Linked DNA regions of Homo sapiens: regions 2 and 3 are each linked to region 1. Evidence: promoter capture Hi-C in human tissues and cell types (Jung and others, 2019). All regions are on one chromosome and are shown on one strand. The core of a region is centred on a gene start or on the middle of the fragment in contact, and the rest is flanking DNA. Distances in the headings are between cores, read along the strand shown. Region 1 holds the start of EN2 (engrailed homeobox 2). Region 2 has its middle 12 kb from the start of PAXIP1-DT. Region 3 has its middle 110 kb from the start of INSIG1.

Region 1 (3,302 bases), core at 526-3,025:
AGATCTATGAAAAAATATATCCAGCATCTCTGCAGGGCCCCTGCGAATGCTGCCTCTTTCCCATCAGCAGCCCCCAGGAAACCCTGAGAGAAGGTCCTTTCTATTTGGGGATGGCAGGTGCCGGGAGGGACGGCTGCCTCCCTTGTCCTCGCTGTGTGCAGGAAGGGGGCTGAGCCCCACCACTGCGGGCTGGCGCTGGCAAACAAAGTGGAGCCAAGGGGAAAGGGCGCCTTTATTTTCCTCCTTCCCTGTGTGCATCCTCCTGAGTCCCACCGGTCAGCGCAGGCCCGAGGGGCAGAAGGCAGAGCGGCAAAGGGCCTCGCCTTTTCTTCCCCGAGCACAGCCGGGATAACCGGATGGTAGGACAAGTCTGGGGTGGGCTGGGGCATGCGTCCCCGGCCTGGCCTGAGTTGGAAGATCGTAGGGAAGGGGATGAGAGTGTGCACTTCCGGGCCCATCTTCCAGCCACCACGTTCCCACCAAAAAAAACTACAGTGGGGGAGACATGGGCTAGGGGCTGGGAAGAGATGCGCCAAGGCGGGGTGGAAGACAGAGAGGGGAGACAGGGAGAGAGGAAGGAGAGAGAGAGACAGAGAAAGAAAGAAGGTCCCTTCTGCGGTCCTAAGAAGTCTGTACCCCCTAGCGAATCAGTCCTGCCGCTGGACTCCTGGCCGCTGCCCGGGCCGGCGTCAGCTTCACACAATGTCGCGTGAGTCTTTGTGCGTGTGCGCGGGGGAGGTTCGAGATGTTTTCCTCCCGGTAAGTTCCCGCGCCAGCACCGCCCCCCAGCTCCGCGGGCCTCCCCGCGGCGAGCCGGGACGCGTGGTCCCCGCGGGCTCACCTGAAGAAGGCCGGTCCGAGTAGCGCGTACAGTAGACCCACGCCGGCCAGAGCATGGGCTGCGCGCCCAGGTTGGCGCCGGCTTGCGAGCTGTCCGAGTCCGAGCTCACCGACAGGTCGCCGCCGCCCAAGCCGCGGGCCTTGAGCGACCCGTCCAGGGGGCCGCCGGGGTCGCCGCCTTTCTTGGCGCCACCGTGCAGCGAGAGCGTCTTGGAGCCGCCTTCCCCGTCACCCGGAGAGTCGCTGCCGGCGGCTGGGAGCGGCCCGCCCGCGCCGGGCGCACATGGCGGGTTCTGCCGGGGCTCTCGGGAGCCCGAGCCCAAGAGCTGCTCCGAGCCGCCCGCGCCGCCGCCTCCCTCCGCACCGCTCGCGCCGCCTTCGCCGCCGGCTCCGCCGCCCCTTCCTCCTCCCGCGCCCGCACAGCAGGTCCCCGCGTCCTTTCGCCGGCCGAACTCGGGCCGCAGGATGTTGTCGATGAAGAAGTTGGTGATGCGGTGCGGGTGCTGGTGGTTGCCGGGCGCCTGCAGGACCGCGGGCAGCATCAGAGCCCGCCGGCGCCCGGTGTCCGCTTCGCCCGGGCTGCTACCGCCGCCGCCGCCCGAGCCGCCGCCGGGGCTGGATTCCGGCTGCCGCTGTCCCTCCACCGCCGCCGCTGCTTCGCCAGGCTTGGGGTCATTCTCCTCCATGCTGTTCACAGTAAATCCCACACTGGTTCTCCGGGGACGCCCTTCCAAATCAGCCTTCGGCCCTCCCGCGGCGCACACGGAGACCCCCGCGCCCCCACCCCGCCGAGTCTTCCGAGGGCGTGCGCGGCGGCCGCGGCCAGGGCTGAGGTCCTACAAGTCGCCGGCCGCGCTCGGCGCGGAGCCACCTTTGAATCCACGAACTGGGTTAGAAACACCACGAGCCGCCCCGCTCGCCCAGACGATGAGAGATTCAACAGAGCCAAGTCCTCGACTTCGCCGCGCAGCCGGGGTCTAGACAGTCGCAGTGGTCCGGCGGGGACGCGGGCCGCCTCCCGGGCTCCCCGCTCCTCTCCGCGTCCGGCCGCCTCGGGCTCCGGCGCCGCCGCCTGGGCCGCCCGGGGCGAGAGCTGCGCGCATGCAGGCAGCGCGTTCCCCGGCGCTCACGCCCGCCCGGGCCGGCTCCGGCCGCCGCCGCCGCCCGGCCGTCCCCGCCCGCACGCCCTAGCCGGCCCTCGAGGGTGCCGGGCGCCCGCGGTCAGCGCGCCCGCCACCGCCCGCACGCACATGGAGGCCCCCTCCTCGCGGCCGCCGCCCCGCTGCGGGCCGGGGCGCCCCACCGGCGTGCGGCCGCGCCCCCGCCGAGCCCCGCAGAGCTCCGCGGCCCGAGTCGCATGGGTGAGAGACGCGAGGCCAGGGCCCGGCCGGGCCGGGCTGGGCCGCCCGCGCTCCCCGGCCGTCCGCCGCCCTCGCCGCCTCGGCCTCCGCGCGGGCTCGGAAATTTCCAGGCCACTCGGCGCAACCTGAGACACTTTCACTCTGGATTTTTGTTCTTATTTTTAACAGAGCCCCCTCGAGTGACGTCGCAGGCCGGTCTCCTGGACACGTGCCTCGGGCCAATGGCCGCGGCGCCGCGCGCCCACGTGACGCTCCGGCCGCCGCTGGGTGACAGGAGCAGCCCGCCGCCCCTCCTCCCCTTAAAGCGGCCGCGTCCCCCGCTCCGGGTGCGGGAGCCCAGGAACCCGGAGAGACCCCCGACCGCGTCTCCTGCGCTCGCCCGCGCTTTCCCTGTCGCTTCGCGGTTCAGGGGTGTGAGTCACCCGGCGACAGCCCCGCCAGGTCACCCCGGGGCGCGTAGGTGGACACGCACAGGAAGATCGCTATTTTTAAGATTTCCATATTGTTTACCGTGGGGCGAAATCCCACAATTCCTTGCACAAAATGCATAAATAATATTAAATGAGCTGCCGAGATACAAAGGGACTTTTGTGGTCCGCTTTCCTTGCTGATGGAGAGGAATAGTGTCACTCCCATTTGACTCGGTAACCCGGCAGCTTCCTGTCTTAAACGCAGAGCTGGCGCGCAGGACACTCCTCCTGCAGACACTTATTGTAAGTGTGCGTGTGTGTGCGTGTGCAGGGAGGCGCGTGCATACGGCCGCATTCCACCCGGGGACAGCGACCCTCATGAAACATGCTTAGCGATCCGAAAGAGCGGGGGAATGCAGTATGCGGCTCCATTTGCGAAGGGAGAAATCCAGGAGCCTCGGAGGTTCTAAAGGAATCCTTTTTGCCAAGGAGAGGAGGGGTGACTGTTCAGCTAAGACTTCAAAACCAAGTCGCCCGCCCCCCTCTAACTTCTCTACTCTGATTGAGGAGCTCCCAGACCGGTCATCTCGTTTTCTTTGTTTTAAAATCCTTTAAACTAATTTTGCCGGAGAGCAGGGCCCATTTGAAACGAGAATTAGGAATCCAACGGCAAGGGTGGGAGCCCCAGTTG
Region 2 (3,302 bases), core at 532-3,031, 440 kb after region 1:
ATTTATGTAAATCACAGTAGAAGAGACCAAAGAAATTCTTTCTCAAGGCATCAGAGATGTTTCATAAAATGGGACATCTAAGGTTGGCCATAGGAAGAGCAGGTGCGATTTGTGCAGGTGCATGAGTGCAGAGGGTTGCTGGTGATGGAACACAGCCATGGCTGCGGTGGGAAAGTTCTGGATGTGTTTGGAGAGTCAAGTGCTGTAGTCTAGTCTGCTAAGAGTGGGAGGACATGGGCCTAGTGTGCTCGGGCTACGGTGTACAAAGGTGGGGTGTATGGTGGAAAGCAACAGCTTAGAGAGTTCTCTGAAAGGCAGGCTAAGGTGACTGAACTTCAGTCTACAAGTGGTGGGAAACTATGGGACATTTTGGAACCAGAGCATTGAGTCAGCATTGTCTAGCTAGTACTTTTTTGGATATTGTGGAACTAGCAGCACTATTTTGCCTGCTATTATACACTGAATAGGGGCAGGCCAGGCACGGTGGCTCACGCCTGTAATCCCAGCACTTTGGGAGGCCGAGGCCGGCAGATCGCTTGAGGTCAGGAGTTTGAGACCAGCCTGGCCAACATGATGAGACCCCGTCTCTACTAAAAATACAAAAATTAGCCAGGCGTGGTGGCACGTGTCTGTACTCTCAGCTACGTGGGAGACTGAGGCAGGAGAATTGCTTGAACCCGGGAGGCGGAGGTTGCAGTGAGCCAAGATTGCAGCACTGCACTCCACCCTGAGTGACAGGGTGAGACCTTGTCTCAATAAAACAAAAAATAAAATAAAAATAAAATAAAATAAACAGAATAAGGGCAGATATTTTCCAAATGGAATCAAATGGAATACCAGTTTTTACTGTCTCAACTTCAGCCTGTAAATTTTTTTGATAGGAATTGAAAATAGTAGGATTCTAATTTATGAGAAATATGGACAGTCATTTCTTCATATAAAGCTTTTCCCCGAAGGTCTCCAATCTGCTTCTTTGTACATGTCTCCCGCGCTCCATCCCGCAACATCTTCCTCCAGGCAGGAGCTGACTGCTAGTCCTGCCAGCCCACCATGCTCATTCCCAAGCCCAGGCCTCTGCTCAGGCTTCTCTTCCACAGGGAACAGGCATCCTTCTCTTCCTGTTGATCTTCGAAGGTCTCTCAAGACCCCTCCTCTAAGACAACCTCCCAAAACATCCCTGTCTCCGTCGCATCTCACACTTTGTATTCCATTACTCTATGCAACTCACGTTGGCATTTGATATGCTGCTTACAGGCTGGAACTCAGTCACTCCATGGACGGGCCTTGACTGCAACACAAAGCCTATATGCAATGCACCTACGTGCTCAGTACAGGTTTGTTCAACTACAGTGGATTTCCTATCATCAGACCACTTCACTGGACTACATGCGTTGGGCTTGTGTTTTAAACCATACCAGTACCCAAGCTTTACTCACATAACCTCTTGATGGATCAGGGTCTCTCCCAGGTAGTGGTGCTGTGGATAAGGAGCAATGCAGAGACAGGGAGAAATGGGCAACAGTGTCCTCTCTCTGTCCGTGTCTGCCTGCAGAGTTCTGGCTGCTCAAATCTCCGTGCAGAGGCCCTTCTAAAGTGGGAAGAGAAGGCAAATTCAGCCATTTTGTAGATGCAGCCTCATTTTTGCTCTCGGAAAACACATCACTACATGAAAACATAGTTATCCACAAATTGTTTGTATTTATAAACATGAAATAACATGGCTTATTGATTTCCTCAAGCCATATAGCTGCTAGGCTTATCAATCTGTTATTTCTTCCCAAAATGTCATCCATTTAGTCCACCGGCAAGTCTGAGGAAAAACTAAATATTTTATTATGCCATTTATACCAGATGATAGTTTCAGAAGCTCTCCTTTTCATTATAATTATTTAGTATTATTTGATGCATCATGATTATTTTATTGTCTATAACTGAGATCATGTGACAGGGCTATTTCTTATAGAAGTCTATGTTCTAGGATGTATTTTATCCTTAAACAAAGGACATATCCATTGAGTTCAAATTGGACAGAAATTATGGAGTCTCAACTCAAGTTTTTACATGCATCATGGTTCAAAACAAGTAAGAAATACCTTTGCAAGTATCTGATATCTCACCTAAAATTCCCCTTAATCTGTCTTATTCCTGCCACTGATCATAAAACAATAAGTGTAAGACTTGGCAATATCCCCTCTTGTCATAAGCTTTCCAATTATTGAAAATTAAGTAACTCCCCATAGATGAGAAATCATTAAATATATAGTAAATAATGAGGTTAATTAATTTAACCCCTTCTAATTAGGAAACTAATTAAATCAGAAAATTAAAACTGACGCGAGACATTAAACATAAAATTGTCTCTTCCACTTCAACCACTTCCAAAAGAGAAATATGTATTAGCTACAAAAAATATAAATCTGTATACTCTTTTCAACCAAAATAAAGTTAGATTTTTCCGTAGTATAAATATTACTTTTAGAGAGTTTTCCTCTTTTCTATTTCTATTGTATATGAAATTAAAACTCTTTCCTTTCAATGTTTTTAAAGAATGAATTAGAATAAGTCTAAAAAGGAGAGCGTAACCCAGACTCTGCCAGTAACTGTGACAATGAGAAACTCACTTGAATTCCTTGGGCCTCACCTTTCTCAACCTTAGTGTAGTCTCTGAAAGAAGTGAGATTGACTCCCGTCATCTTGGAGACGGACACAGTGTTAAACAGGAGCAACAGACGAGGCAGTTAGAGTTAGAGAAGCTGTTAAAATCTTTTCAGGGTGTTATGATACAGAACTAGATCTTGGCTTGGGATCTTCATTAATTAGCTGGTGAAATGTCTGAGATAAATTAAAGAGATTTTGCAAACAAGCCCAATTCTCTCTTCAACCCCAAACTGTCATGCCTGTCAACATTATTTTTGGATATAAATTCCTAACCTCTGGGAAATGTCTCAGAACAACAACCAAATAAAGAAAAAGGTTGGGTTGCTTGGTGCCATTAAAAATAATTTTTCTTTTCTTTCTTTCTTTTTTTTTCTTATTAAGACAGAGTCACTCTGTTGCCTAGGCTAGAAGTGCAGTAGTATGCTCTCGGTTCACTGCAACCTCCACCTCTTGGGTTTAAGTGATTATCGTGCCTCAGCCTCCCAAGTAGCTGGGATTACAGGCACTCACCACCACAACTGGCTAATTTTTGTATTTTTAGTAGAGACAGGTTTTCACCACGTTGGCCAGGCTGGTCTCGAACTCCTGACCTCAAACTATCCACCTGCCTTGGCCTCCCAAAGTGCTAGGATTACAGGTGTGAA
Region 3 (3,302 bases), core at 231-2,730, 270 kb after region 1:
AAGCAGAGACTCCCTTCCTTTCTCCTCTCACACAGCCTCTTTTCACCTGAAAGAGGTTTCTACTTCTCAGGTTTGGCAACAAGCTTAGGTTCCTCTCTTTGACGCTGTCTATGGAATCACAAATGCCACCTGCCTCCCCTCTCAGCCTTCATCTTTCTGGATGAAAGAGTCTTTCCAGTTTTCCTCCCTCCCCACGTGCATGCCCCGGCTTAGGGTAACCATTCCCTGTGATGCTGTGGACATCATTTCCCCAGGGGTTAACCTCAACCTCATCTCAAATTTCTCTCCTGATTCAGTTAACTACTTGAGTAAACCTTATAAACTTAACAGTTAAATATAAGACTCTCATACAAATCTGGAATGAACACATCAGAGATTTGCTTAGCCCAGACTGGGAAAGGGCAAAATTGTACAACTGGTTCAAAGAGTGGCTGACAGAGTTTTGTTTCATCAGCCAACACAGCCCCTGTAAAGGAAGTCTGCTAAGTTAGAGGCCAAAGTGATCAATATCCTACCGCAAACTAAAACCACGGCCTTGGGGGCCAGTAGTTTCAGTGATTTCATTCTCCACCAGACTGAAATCATTTGCATCTCTACTGACAAAATATCTACAAATTAACATGTAACTTCACAAAGTCTAGGCCCTAATCAATGGTAAATAGCAAGTCAAATGAAGGTCCAGTCCTCCCCAAAAATAATGAAGCCAGCCTGGGGTGGACTTGAATGATGGGTGGGTCTTGGCTGTATGGTGACTGCCAAGCACTGGGTGATTTTCTTTTTTTTCTTTTTCACTTTTTTTTTTTTCTGAGATGGAGTCTCGCTCTGTCACCCAGGCTGGAGTGCGGTGGCGTGATCTCTGCTCACTGCAACCTCTGTCTCCTGGGTTCAAGTGATTTTCCTGCCTCAGCCTCCTGAATAGCTGGGATTACAGGCATGCACCATCACGCAGGGCTAAGTTTGGTGTTTTTAGTACAGACGGGGTATCACCATGTTGTCCAGGCTGGTCTGGAACTTCAGACCTCAGGTGATCCACCTGCCTTAGCCTCCCAAAGTGCTGGGATTACAGACATGAGCCCCCGTGATCGGTCCGCGATTTTCTTATACATAGGATAGATGGGGTGAACTCAGTGGGTGCTGGATGGATTGACGGAGGACCCACCCTATGTATAGACGGCCGGGATGGATCCTCTGTGAAATGTAGTTTTAAAGACTGGCAGGTTTCCGACCCCTGACCCTGTGCCCTGGGCCTGGGCACCCACCCGTCCTCTGCACCTGCGCCTCTCAGCAGCCCTAACTGCAGAGCTCTGCTCCCGGACCCGGCCCCCGTGGCAAGTGGGAGGAAGGGAAGGCCCAGGGCCAGAAGCCGAGGCCACAGGTCAGCCCCCACCCCCACACACCTGTAATGTAAAATGCCCATTTAGCCAAATTTAAAAAGTAACCAGAAACAGGTGGAATGCATGTTAATAATGTCCTGTTTAATCCAGTCCCGCTGGAACATTAGCATTTCCACATGTAATCAATTTAAAAAGTCTCAATGACTGGCTCGCTTTTTTTTTTTTCCTACGGTCTTCAAAATCTGGCGTGCGTTTCAGTCGCCGCACGTCTCCTTCGGAGGCTGAATGATTAGCCATTGCAGCAACATGTCGCCCTAGTGGAACCATGAAGGTCCATTTAAAGGAAAAATAACGTACATAGCTTCCATCTTTCAATCTAAATTCATCAGAATAAAACGTTAGGGGTTCAGCCTCTCTGGCCGCGTCCCAGGTGCGCACCAGTCCCGCGGCCGGAGCGGGAGAACCAGCGCGCGCCGCCGGGTGTGAGTGCCGCTCAGTGGCCGCGCTTGGTAGTGCAGGGTCCCGCCCCGGGGTTTGAGATTTGAGCACATTCTCCAGATGTTTCTATGAAGATTTGGGGGTGGGAGTCGGGTGGGAGTGAAAGAATGCACAGAGAAGGAGAGTTGGAAGAAGAAGGGGTGTTGTGTATGTTCAGTTCCAGTTCACCAAATCGCTGCGGGGGGGGGGGGGGGTGATTGTCACAGACGAGGTGGCTTTAACAATCATTTATTTCTTCACAGTTCTGGACCCTGGAAGTCTGAGATCAAGTCCAAGTCCAAATCCAAGATCAACAGGGTTAGTTTCTCCTGAGGCCTCTCTTCCTGGTTTTCCAATGGCCACCTTTATATCACAGAGAGAGAAAGAGAGACAGAGAGAGAAACAGAGAGACAGACAGAGAGAGCTTCTCATCTTCTTCTAGGGCCACAGTCTTATTGGGTTAGGGTCCCACCCTTCTGACCTCATTTAACCTTAATCACCTCCTTAGAGTCCCCATCTCCAGGTATAGTGACACTGGGGGGTTAGAGCTTCAACTATAAATTTGGGGGGACATAACCCTGCCCATAACAGCAGTAGTTACCGCATTCTACAGTAAGCAACTGAGGCACAGAAAGGCTAAGACTTGCCCAAGATCACACAGAGCCAGGGCCTGTCCCACGGGGGCTGGCTCTAGAGCCCGGGTTTCTCCCTTGAGTGTCCTCAGCCTCTTCTTGATCTTCAGTACCCCCACGCCCCTACCCCTACCCCAAACCCACGTGCTCAGAAGCCTCAGCCTCATATCTCTGTTCACCAAATCAGACCCCTCCTTTCCCTTCAAGCTTGGATTTCTACTCCCTTAGGCCAGGGAGCAAAGTGTAAAACTTAATAATGGGCTTTGACTAGTCCTGGTTTTTACAAACCCGGTTCACTCTCACAGGCTTGAGTGTGTCATAGCCAGGTGACTGGAAGTTAGCTGGCAGTGTCTATTCTGAGCACGTTAGCCATGAGCTCGCTGACGTTTCTGCAGAACGCCCCTCGCTGGGCTATGTGCGGCGTGCGGGCCACGTCTGAGGGGGATGTGCTGTCGTAGACCCAGCACAGGGTCTGCCCAGCTCAGAAAGGCCTGCTGCAATTTGATTTTTAAATGTAAGCGCATTTTCATTGCACACGTTCACTCACTGGTTCATATGTGTGAACTACATTTGTTGTCACTCTAAAGTTGAGGAAGAGGATGTGTAAAATCTGAAGGTGAAGCTGGCAGTGGGCCTTTGTCCAGATAGAAGTGGATCCACTTTTGTTCAGCTCACCAGGCAGAGGCGCCTCCGCTCTCATGCCTGAAATACGAGATGATACAGAAATAGTAAGCTGCTTACAAACTGGTGATACTTACTGGCCTTGCAATGAAACAAATTCCTTGATGATGCAATATCAACCCTGGATTATCCAATATCAACCCTGGATTATCCCTAGAACAGTTAGGGCAGGACTTGT

Evidence for each region. The method cuts DNA at HindIII sites, captures the fragments that hold promoters and counts their contacts. A contact is called where the count stands out against the background at its distance.
Region 2: a contact is called between a fragment that was not itself captured here and the fragment with the promoter of EN2 in region 1, in 1 of the 25 tissues and cell types used here (spleen).
Region 3: a fragment that was not itself captured here is called in contact with the fragment with the promoter of EN2 in region 1 in 1 of the 25 tissues and cell types used here (thymus).

The regions. Positions count from the first base shown.
Region 1 is chr7:155,456,602-155,459,903 of GRCh38, reverse strand. EN2 (engrailed homeobox 2) reads right to left here and starts at 1,775. Exons shown (of 2, transcript NM_001427.4): 1 at 842-1,775. The coding sequence starts at 1,526. EN2-DT (EN2 divergent transcript) reads left to right here and starts at 2,786. Exons shown (of 3, transcript NR_186580.1): 1 at 2,786-2,914. RefSeq lists an enhancer at 2,122-3,113. The HindIII fragment of the contact is 19,554 bases long and covers 1-3,302 here.
Region 2 is chr7:155,013,374-155,016,675 of GRCh38, reverse strand. No RefSeq gene overlaps it. Among named protein-coding and RNA genes, the nearest start is that of PAXIP1-DT, 12 kb to the right of the region's middle. The HindIII fragment of the contact is 4,543 bases long and covers 1-3,302 here.
Region 3 is chr7:155,189,299-155,192,600 of GRCh38, reverse strand. No RefSeq gene overlaps it. Among named protein-coding and RNA genes, the nearest start is that of INSIG1, 110 kb to the left of the region's middle. The HindIII fragment of the contact is 6,182 bases long and covers 1-3,302 here.